Regions from separate parts of the Homo sapiens genome. Here all the other regions are linked to region 1. Evidence: promoter capture Hi-C in human tissues and cell types (Jung and others, 2019). All regions are on one chromosome and are shown on one strand. Each heading gives the region's core, a stretch centred on a gene start or on the middle of the fragment in contact. The rest is flanking DNA. Distances are from core to core; before and after follow the strand shown.

Region 1 (2,867 bases), core at 255-2,754:
TACTATTACCAGAAGCTGAGAGGCCCTTGCTGGTCTGAGAAAAACAAATTAGTGCTAGAAACACAGGTGATTAATTTCTGTTATTTCTAATTTCCTATATTATAACAATGTTCTTGATAAGAATTTGTTGAAATTGGGTAAAAAGTCTAGTGGTTCGAGGTCGGGTTGGGGGGGCGGTTGGGGGAAGGGGGTGGTTCTGAGGCCAGACTCACTTCGTGTCTTGGGAAGGTACCACCTCTGGAAGCCTCATATTCCTGCTCTCAGGAATGGGCACAGCGGTGGTACCTACCTCAAGGGGCTGTTGGGGAAAGTATGGCAGGTAATTCTTTTAAGGGGCTTAGGACAGGGCCTGGCACACAAGATTTGCTTATTCTATGTCAGCTATTATTCATTATAAACTACTTTAAACTCTTAGCCAGGTGGAGCCACTAGGGATTTCTGAGCAGGCGGGAGCAGCGGGGAGGGGGGCGGCGAGATAAATGAGGGCCTCCAGGTCCCAGCTGGAGTAAGACCCCCACTTTATTTCCTCTTCCTAACCACCCAGCTCCTGGGGCATACAAAGGGCTCAAAATACATATTCTCTGCATGCACAGTATCTAGACCCTCTGGCATCCTCCTCTTCCCCCACTCCCCCATGCCTCACTCTGTCACCTGGCCTCGCTGTGGGCTCAGGGGCGCAAACCCTGCACGTGCACTGCCCTGCAGCCGGCGTTACACAATCCGCATTTCTAAGGCAGCCGTGAAACCTGTGTCGCTGTAGGCGGGGGACCGCAAGTTGCCGGCGGGTACCTGGCTGGACAGCATCCTGATTCAAGTGTTTCGACACGGAAGGGGCGCAAGGGCACGGGAGCCGGGGCAGGCTGGGGAAAGGGAAGCTGAAAGGCTGCTGGGGGAGGGGAGTAGCGGAGCGAGATCTTGGGGACGGCGCGGAGGCGGCGCGTGACACGGAGCAAGATGCTATCTGGGTGGGCGAGCTGCAGTCCTTCTCCAGGAAATGGGGGAAACAGGGCTGCAGGACCCCAAAATCCTCTCGGCACTGCGAGGGGCGCCTAAGGGCTGCTGCGGGCGCAGGGGGTGGGGAGGCGAAGTAGAAAGAGGGTGCAGGTCCCGACCCGTCCTCACTCTGTCCCCCGGCTTCAAGAGGCTGGCTGGACCCAGGAAATGGGGCGCCGGGTTTCGGGCATCTCAAACCTATCCAGGCAGCGGGAGGTGGGGGCAGCGCCCGCGCGGGGAGCGGAGTGGAAAGGCAAGTGCAGATCGCCGACTCTTTCCACTCGATGCGCCGCTGCAGGGAGACACTGGGGGAGAGGTCACGGGGCCATCAGGGCGCCCCATCCCCCTAGGAGCGCACCACCGCCCGCCCGCCCGCCTCCGCTCACCTGACCAGCCTCAACCGCCTGGGTCCCGCCGCCGGGCCCGGACCCCGGCCCTCGGTCTCTAGCCCCGGGCTGGGACCTGCCGCCGGGCTCCTACCCGCGCCGCTCCCAGCTCCGGCGCCCAGCCCAGCTGGACTCCTTAAAGGCGCAGCGTGCCGGTTCGCGTCCTCCGACAGAAAAGCCGCCCCGCCCCGACCCGGCGCCGCGCGCTGTCCCCCAGCGGCCGCGCTCTGTTTGGGGGCTCCGGGGCGCTTATCCCCAGTTCCTCCGCGCGCTGCCTCACAGCGTTAAACCCGGAGGGTACAGTTAGCGTCTCGCACAACCCAACGCCGGCAACTGTCTCCTAGCACCCGAAAGCCACGGCGAGAGCAGGATCGCCTACAGAGGTACCGGGGGCGGAGCCCGAGCGCCCGGTCCCGCCCCCGCCCCCGCCCCCGCCCCCGCCCCGCCCCGCCCCGGAACGCACACGGTGGCGGGGCGCGGGGAGGGCCTCTGAGCCCGCAGAGCCACACACAGTTCCACATCCCCGGCCCGAATTCTTCCCGGCACTGTTTCACTTACTGAGCACCTACTGTGTGCCTGGCGCGGCTGGGCATTAAACCCGCCAAAGTGACTCAGGCAGGATCTCTGGATCTCTGCCCCGAAGGGCATCAGAGAGAAAGGGACAGGCAGGGGTTCTCAGGCAGCAAAGCAACACTGCTTGACATCGGTTGTCTCACGTAATCCTATGAGGTAGGCACTGGGGTCGACTTCTTTTCTCAGAAGACACCGAGGCTCAGGGAGGTGAGGGGCTTGCCCTGGATAGTCCAGGAAATGGGAGAAATGGGGGCGCAGGAGCCCCCAAATCCTCTGGACACTGCGAGGGCTCCACCCCAAGGAACACCGTAGGCGCTCATGCTCCCGCCCTGGCTCTCGGGTGTTTGGAGACAGTTGCCGGCGTCGGGTTGTGCGGGACGTCAGACTGTAAGGACTGAACTGGGAATTCCAACCGAGGATCGTCTGACTCCAAAGCTATACGGGAGAAATGGGCACCTGGAAAGGCCTTCGGCCACCTCTGGTTAAACCCCTGCTATGGTCGTTTCTTTCTTTTAGGGACAGTTAAACCCCAGCTTGGCCTGGCTACTCTTCCGTGTTTTCCATGTCTCAGTTTAGCTGCCACTTCCTCCAGGAAGCCTTCAGTAAGACCCCTTTGGGCTCACACTGCACTGTGGGCTTCTTTCATCAAAACATGTATTCGTTCATTTAACAGATATTTACTACACCTGTTAGGGGCCTTAGTGGCACCCAGATCTTCCTGCTGCACTGAGTGCTTGGCCTGCCACTCCAGACGTCAAGGGGCCAGGGCTCAGCAAGACTCTCTTGGCCGTTTAAATCCCCCACAAAGGCAGCCTTTGGGCCTCAGCCTGCCAAGGCCTCCACGCTGGTGGAGCCTGGCTGAGTGGTGCAGGTCCTGGGTTTTAAGAATAGGACACAGTCAAGAAGTCCCGGAGA
Region 2 (2,862 bases), core at 353-2,852, 51 kb before region 1:
TGGGAAGTGAGGAGCCCCTCTGCCCGGCCAGCCACCCCGTCCGGGAGGGAGGTGGGGGGGTCAGCCCCCTACCCGGCCAGCCGCCCTGTCCGGGTGGTGAGGGGCGCCTCTGCCTGGCCGCCCCTACTGGGAAGTGAGGAGCCCCTCTGCCCAGCCACCACCCCGTCTGGGAGGTGTGCCCAACAGCTCATTGAGAATAGGCCATGATGACAATGGTGGTTTTGTGGAATAGAAAGGGGGGAAAGGTGGGGAAAAGATTGAGAAATCGGATGGTTGCCGTGTCTGTGTAGAAAGAGGTAGACATGGGAGACTTTTCATTTTGTTCTGTACTAAGAAAGATTCTTCTGCCTTGGGATCCTGTTGATCTGTGACCTTACCCCGCAACCCTGTGCTCTCTGAAACATGTGCTGTGTCCACTCAGGGTTAAATGGATTAAGGGCAGTGCAAGATGTGCTTTGTTAAACAGATGCCTGAAGGCAGCATGCTCGTTAAGAGTCATCACCACTCCCTAATCTCAAGTACCCAGGGACACAAACACTGCGGAAGGCCTCAGGGTCCTCTGCCTAGGAAAACCAGAGACCTTTGTTCACTTGTTTATCTGGTGACCTTCCCTCCACTATTGTCCTATGACCCTGCCAAATCCCCCTCTGTGAGAAACACCCAAGAATGATCAATAAAAAAAATAAAAAAATAAAAAAAATAAAAAATTACCCGGGTGTGGTGGCACATGCCTGTAGTCCCAGCTGCCTGGGAGGCTGAGGTGGGAGCATTGCTTGAGCTCAGGAGGTTGAGGCTGCAGTGAGCTATGATTGAGCCACTGCATTCTAGCCTGGGTGACAGAGCAAGAACCAGTCTCAGAACAAACAAACAAACAACCCCCCTGCCCAACAAAAAACAAAAATCAAAACCTTTTCCTGCATTGCTTCACACCAGGGCTAAAACTATGGTGAGGCAAATGAGGCATTTGCCTAAGGCACAAAATTTAAGTGCCAAAAAACTCATAAATTAAGAGAAAATATTTTAGTGCAGTATGTTAAAAAAAACATTAATGGAAAAAGGCACATGATGAACAAAATATCAAAATCATAAATACAGACAGGATCTGACCCTGCACCTGCATGACACATCTCTCTCATCTCACCCTTGTCTCGGGCCTGTTATGCACTATAAGGGTAGGTAGACGATAAATTGCTGGAGGGCAGGGATCCTGGCTGTCTTGGTCCCTACTGTATCCTCAGGGCCTAATACAGTGTTAGGCACATACTAGGTGCTCAATAAATGCCTGTTAACTGGCTTAAATGTGTAGTCAGTCAGTGGGTTTATCCCTTCACTAGTTGGTTTGTTCACTCAATTTCTCACTTGTTTGCTCACTCACTGTGTACTCTGGGTCTCCTGCATACCAGGCACGGTGCTGGCAGGGAGAAGGGACATAAAGAATAATAGCCTGTCTGTCTCTAGATGGCCCTCCCATTTTGATGGACTGAACATAGAGGAGCGATGCTTGAAATGAAGCATGCAGAAACCCTCTCAGGAAGGGCTGCCATGTTTGGGTGTACAGGTTGTATACAGACCAAATCCATCATTCACAAAAATGACAATGCACATGGCTCCCCCTGCAGCTGTGCAGTATAGCAGTCAGCCTACAGGGGTCCAAAGAAGAAGGAAGCTGAATTTGGCCTGGTAGGGGCAGGTGCTGTGACACCAAATGTTGATGACAGAGCAGGAAAAGAGCCAGCGAGCTTGGGAGGCAAAAGGCTGTGAAATAAAAGACTCCCTGAAGCCTCTGCTATTTGGCCTCTGTCCCAGGGACAGTCCACAAAACACATGAAGGATCTGATCACATTTATAGCAAGCCCATAGAATGTTAGGCTCTTTTTCTGGAATGAAACGGACTTCTGAGTCTGGGAAAAAAATTTGGACCATGCATTGAAGCCACCAACAGAGGCAAAGGACATGAGCAGTCTAATCTAATACCAGCTAACCTAACTTTTTTGCAACTGGAAGATCATTTTCATACATATTATTTCATTTGAGCCTCAAAATAACCCTGGTACTAGAAGTTTCAGAAACCCTTAATTTAGAGGGGCTGAGTTACTTGCTCAAGGTCATGCATGGGCTGACCAAGGACAAAAGTAGGGCTGGAACATAGACTTTCAGAATCCAAGGCCAGTGCCCTTGCTTCTGCGCTGTCTCCACAGGAAGATGGGTTACAGCCTCTCCCTGTTGGCTCCTGAGAGCCCCAAATCACCTTTGGGGTTTTTAGAACAACAGAAGGCCTTCGCTGCTCAGGCTCTGATTCCTGATCAAATGACTCTCTGCTGGCATAGCCCAGGGCACAAACAAAGCTTCTTTCAGTCCCTTGGCGCTGCAGAAGAGAGCACATGAGATCCCCTTCTCTCCACGTCCACAAAACCATGCTGTGAATCCTCACCATGCCTGGCTCATCTAAGACACCATTGCCTCTTATTCTGCGTACACGCCATGGGCACAGCCTGGCTGCTCCTCCCCACTCTCTCCTGCCTGGGTCATTCATGCACTTGTGGGTCTTTGTGGCCACAGTGTGACCTCCTGCCAGTTAAAAATTGATGCATTTAGGTAAAGGGTATGCAGGTATACTCTGTATTCTTTTTTATTTTTATTTTTTTGAGATAGGATCCCGCCCTGTGGCCCAGGCTGGTGTGCAGTGAAGCAATCACGGCTCACTGCCACCTCCATGTCCTGGACTCAAGTGATCCTCCTGCCTCACCCTCCAGAGTAGCTGGGACTACAGATGCATACCACCATGCTTGGCTACTTTTTTAAAAATTTATTTTTTATAGAGATGGGATCTCACTATGCTGCCCAGGTTGGTCTCAAACTCCT
Region 3 (2,700 bases), core at 23-2,522, 53 kb after region 1:
AATTGTTCCTCCCAAAAGACTATTTATTTATTTATTTTTGAGACAGAGTCTTGCTCTGTCACCCAGGCTGAAGTGCAGCGGTGCGATCTCGGCTCACCATAACCTCTGCCTCCCAGGTTCAAGCGATTCTCCTGCCTCAGCCTCCCAGGTTCAAGCGATTCGCCTGCCTCAGCTTCCCAGGTTCAAGCGATTCTCCTGCCTCAGCCTCCCAGGTTCAAGCGATTCTCCTGCCTCAGCCTCCCAGGTTCAAGCGATTCTCCTGCCTCAGCCTCCCAGGTTCAAGCGATTCTCCTGCCTCAGCCTCCCAGGTTCAAGCGATTCTCCTGCCTCAGCCTCCCGAGTAGCTGGGATTACAGGCACCCGCCATCACGCCCGGCTAATTTTTGTATTTTTAGTAGAGACAGGGTTTCACCATGTTGGCCAGGATGGTCTCCAACTCCTGACTTCAGGTGATCTGCCCACGTCGGCCTCCCAAAGTGCTGGGATTACAGGCGTGAGCCACTGCGCCTGGCCCAAAAATATTTAAGTTTTTTTTTTTCCAAGTTCTAACTGCCAGTGCCACCTCATTTGGCAATAGGACCACTGCAAATGTAATTCGTTAAGATGAGGACATACTGGAGGCGTGGGCCCCTAATCCAATACGATTGATGCCCTTCTAAGGAGACAGTCATGGGAAGCCAGAGTGACACACAGGTAGACAGCCACGTGACGAGGAACGCAGAGCCTGGAGTGCTGCAGCTGGAAGCTGAGGAAGGCCAAGGATGCTGGTGGCCACCAGAAGCCAGGAAGGGCAAGAAAGTGTTTGTCCCTATAGGTTTCAGAGAAAGCTTGACCCTGCCCACAGCTTGATCTGACTTCCAGCCTCCAAAAATGTGAGATCGCCAATTTCTGTTGTGTTAAGCCACTGAGTTTGGGGTACTTTATTATGGCAACCCTAAGAAACTGATACCGGAAGGAGCTTCGAATTTAGCATGGTGGCTGCACAAGACATGTAGGCCACTGTGGTACCCTTCCTCCTCTTCCTGCTGAGCGCATGGCTCCATGAATCAACCCAGCCCTCTCACATCTAGGAGTCATGTGACTTGTTCTCACCAGTGGAATGGGAGAGGAAGTGACACCGCTTAGCTCCAGGCCAAGGCGGTTCAGAGCAGGTGTATTCTCTCCATGCTCAGTCTCTCTCCCCTTTCCCTGGCTGGATGTAGAGGACTCAGAGGAGGGCTGTGAGGCCCTAGGGGATGGCAGAGCTACCAGGTGGGAGAAGCCTGGGTCCCCGGATCAGCAGGTGGAAGGTCACCTGCCCAACATCAGATTGGACGGCCATGTAGGAAAGACGTCTTTATTGGTTTAAGCAACTGGGACTTAGGGGCTGTTTGTTTTAGCAGTGAGGCAACCCTGACTAACACAGGTTCTGAGGGATGAGAGAAGCGGTAAGCAAAAACGTAAACTACTTCTTCCCTAAACTATGGGGTAAATTGGCACTAAGCAACCCAGCTATGGATCCCTTCAACAGAATGTAGAGAAATAAAAAGCAGGGAGATATTCTCTCCCTTTAGCACCTTAAGGATTTAGCGAGCCCTCTCCTGCGCCGGGTCTGCTGAGGGAGCACTTGGAAACCCCACTGTTTCCCCCCAGGAAAGCAGCCCCCATGTCCACGCCTTGCCAATGACGGCAGGGGCGGAGGCAGCCCTACAAGGAGCTGAGGTCCTTGGAGGCAGACAGCCGGGAGGGAGGGCCACCGATTGGTCCAGACCCCGCCTTAGTCACTCTCATGCCTACCCATGCACAGCAAGGCGGCGGGGGCTCGACAGCTGCAGAGCAAGGGTGAGTCTGGCCGGAGGGTCCAGATGGGCCATAGGCATAGGATAGGAGCAGCTCTGGGGACCTTTCCCCATGTGGACTCACGTGAGCTGGTCTGTTTGCCGTGGGAAATGGCAGATGCCACTTTGGGTGTAAAACACCTTTGTGATGGACTGGACCTTGGCATAAGTTGGAACCTTGATGTGCTTCATAGCGTCCCCTGCAACACAGCAGAGGCTGGGGAGAGTGAGGGTCACCTTCCTCCTGCCACATTTCCCCAACCCACAGGGCCGAGGGCCAGCAGGGACACACTACTATAGCTGCTTCAGTTGTTAAAAAAGTGCAACATTTCTGTACCACCTAGGACCAGCCATGCCTTCCTACCTTAGGACCCTCAGACCCTCCTATGACCTCATAACCAAAGGGTAATGCCTGACATCGCACGGAGACCTTGACACCCCACCTTGGCAGCACCACCAGGATCTGTCCTGATAGGGGGGCAATTCCAATTAACTATTCTGACTCTACCCCACCCCAAGCTCACTTACCCCACATCCCATTTCTCCTGTTGTCCCTGGATACCCCACCCATACCAGTGCTCCACAGGAGGCACGTGGGGGCTACTCAAGGCTGAACTAGCTCCCCACATGCCCATAGGCTGCAAATCCTGCCTGTTGAGTCACCACCACCACCAACTACAGTGCTAATAATACCAGCTACCATTTGTTTGAACACTTACTTCATGCCAGGCCCTAGACTGTGCTTTACATGTGTAAAAGGGCATTTTTGGCTGACCTAGCTGGGGTCCAGATTATGCCTTTAACCCCTCTTCCCTGTGTCTTTTTGCAGCCACTGGAATGTCACTGCCCCTGTTTGTAACTGTGGTGGGGAAAGGGAAGTGGT

What was found. Contacts are between HindIII fragments. The study calls those that stand out against the background at their distance.
Region 2: a contact is called between a fragment that was not itself captured here and the fragment with the promoter of ABHD6 in region 1, in 4 of the 25 tissues and cell types used here (dorsolateral prefrontal cortex, hippocampus, ovary and 1 more).
Region 3: a fragment that was not itself captured here is called in contact with the fragment with the promoter of ABHD6 in region 1 in 1 of the 25 tissues and cell types used here (liver).

Annotation. Positions count from the first base shown.
Region 1 is chr3:58,236,429-58,239,295 of GRCh38, reverse strand. It overlaps ABHD6 (abhydrolase domain containing 6, acylglycerol lipase), which reads right to left and starts at 1,504. Exons shown (of 10, transcript NM_001320126.2): 1 at 1,380-1,504. RefSeq lists silencers at 1,263-1,752, 1,763-1,932 and an enhancer at 1,154-2,093. The HindIII fragment of the contact is 20,801 bases long and covers 1-2,867 here.
Region 2 is chr3:58,287,067-58,289,928 of GRCh38, reverse strand. The region is part of intron 9 of ABHD6 (abhydrolase domain containing 6, acylglycerol lipase); the gene reads right to left. Among named protein-coding and RNA genes, the nearest start is that of RPP14, 18 kb to the left of the region's middle. The HindIII fragment of the contact is 4,978 bases long and covers 1-2,862 here.
Region 3 is chr3:58,183,189-58,185,888 of GRCh38, reverse strand. It overlaps LOC124909386 (a long non-coding RNA gene), which reads right to left. Exons shown (of 2, transcript XR_007095929.1): 1 at 1-2,700. Among named protein-coding and RNA genes, the nearest start is that of FLNB-AS1, 14 kb to the right of the region's middle. The HindIII fragment of the contact is 6,139 bases long and covers 1-2,700 here.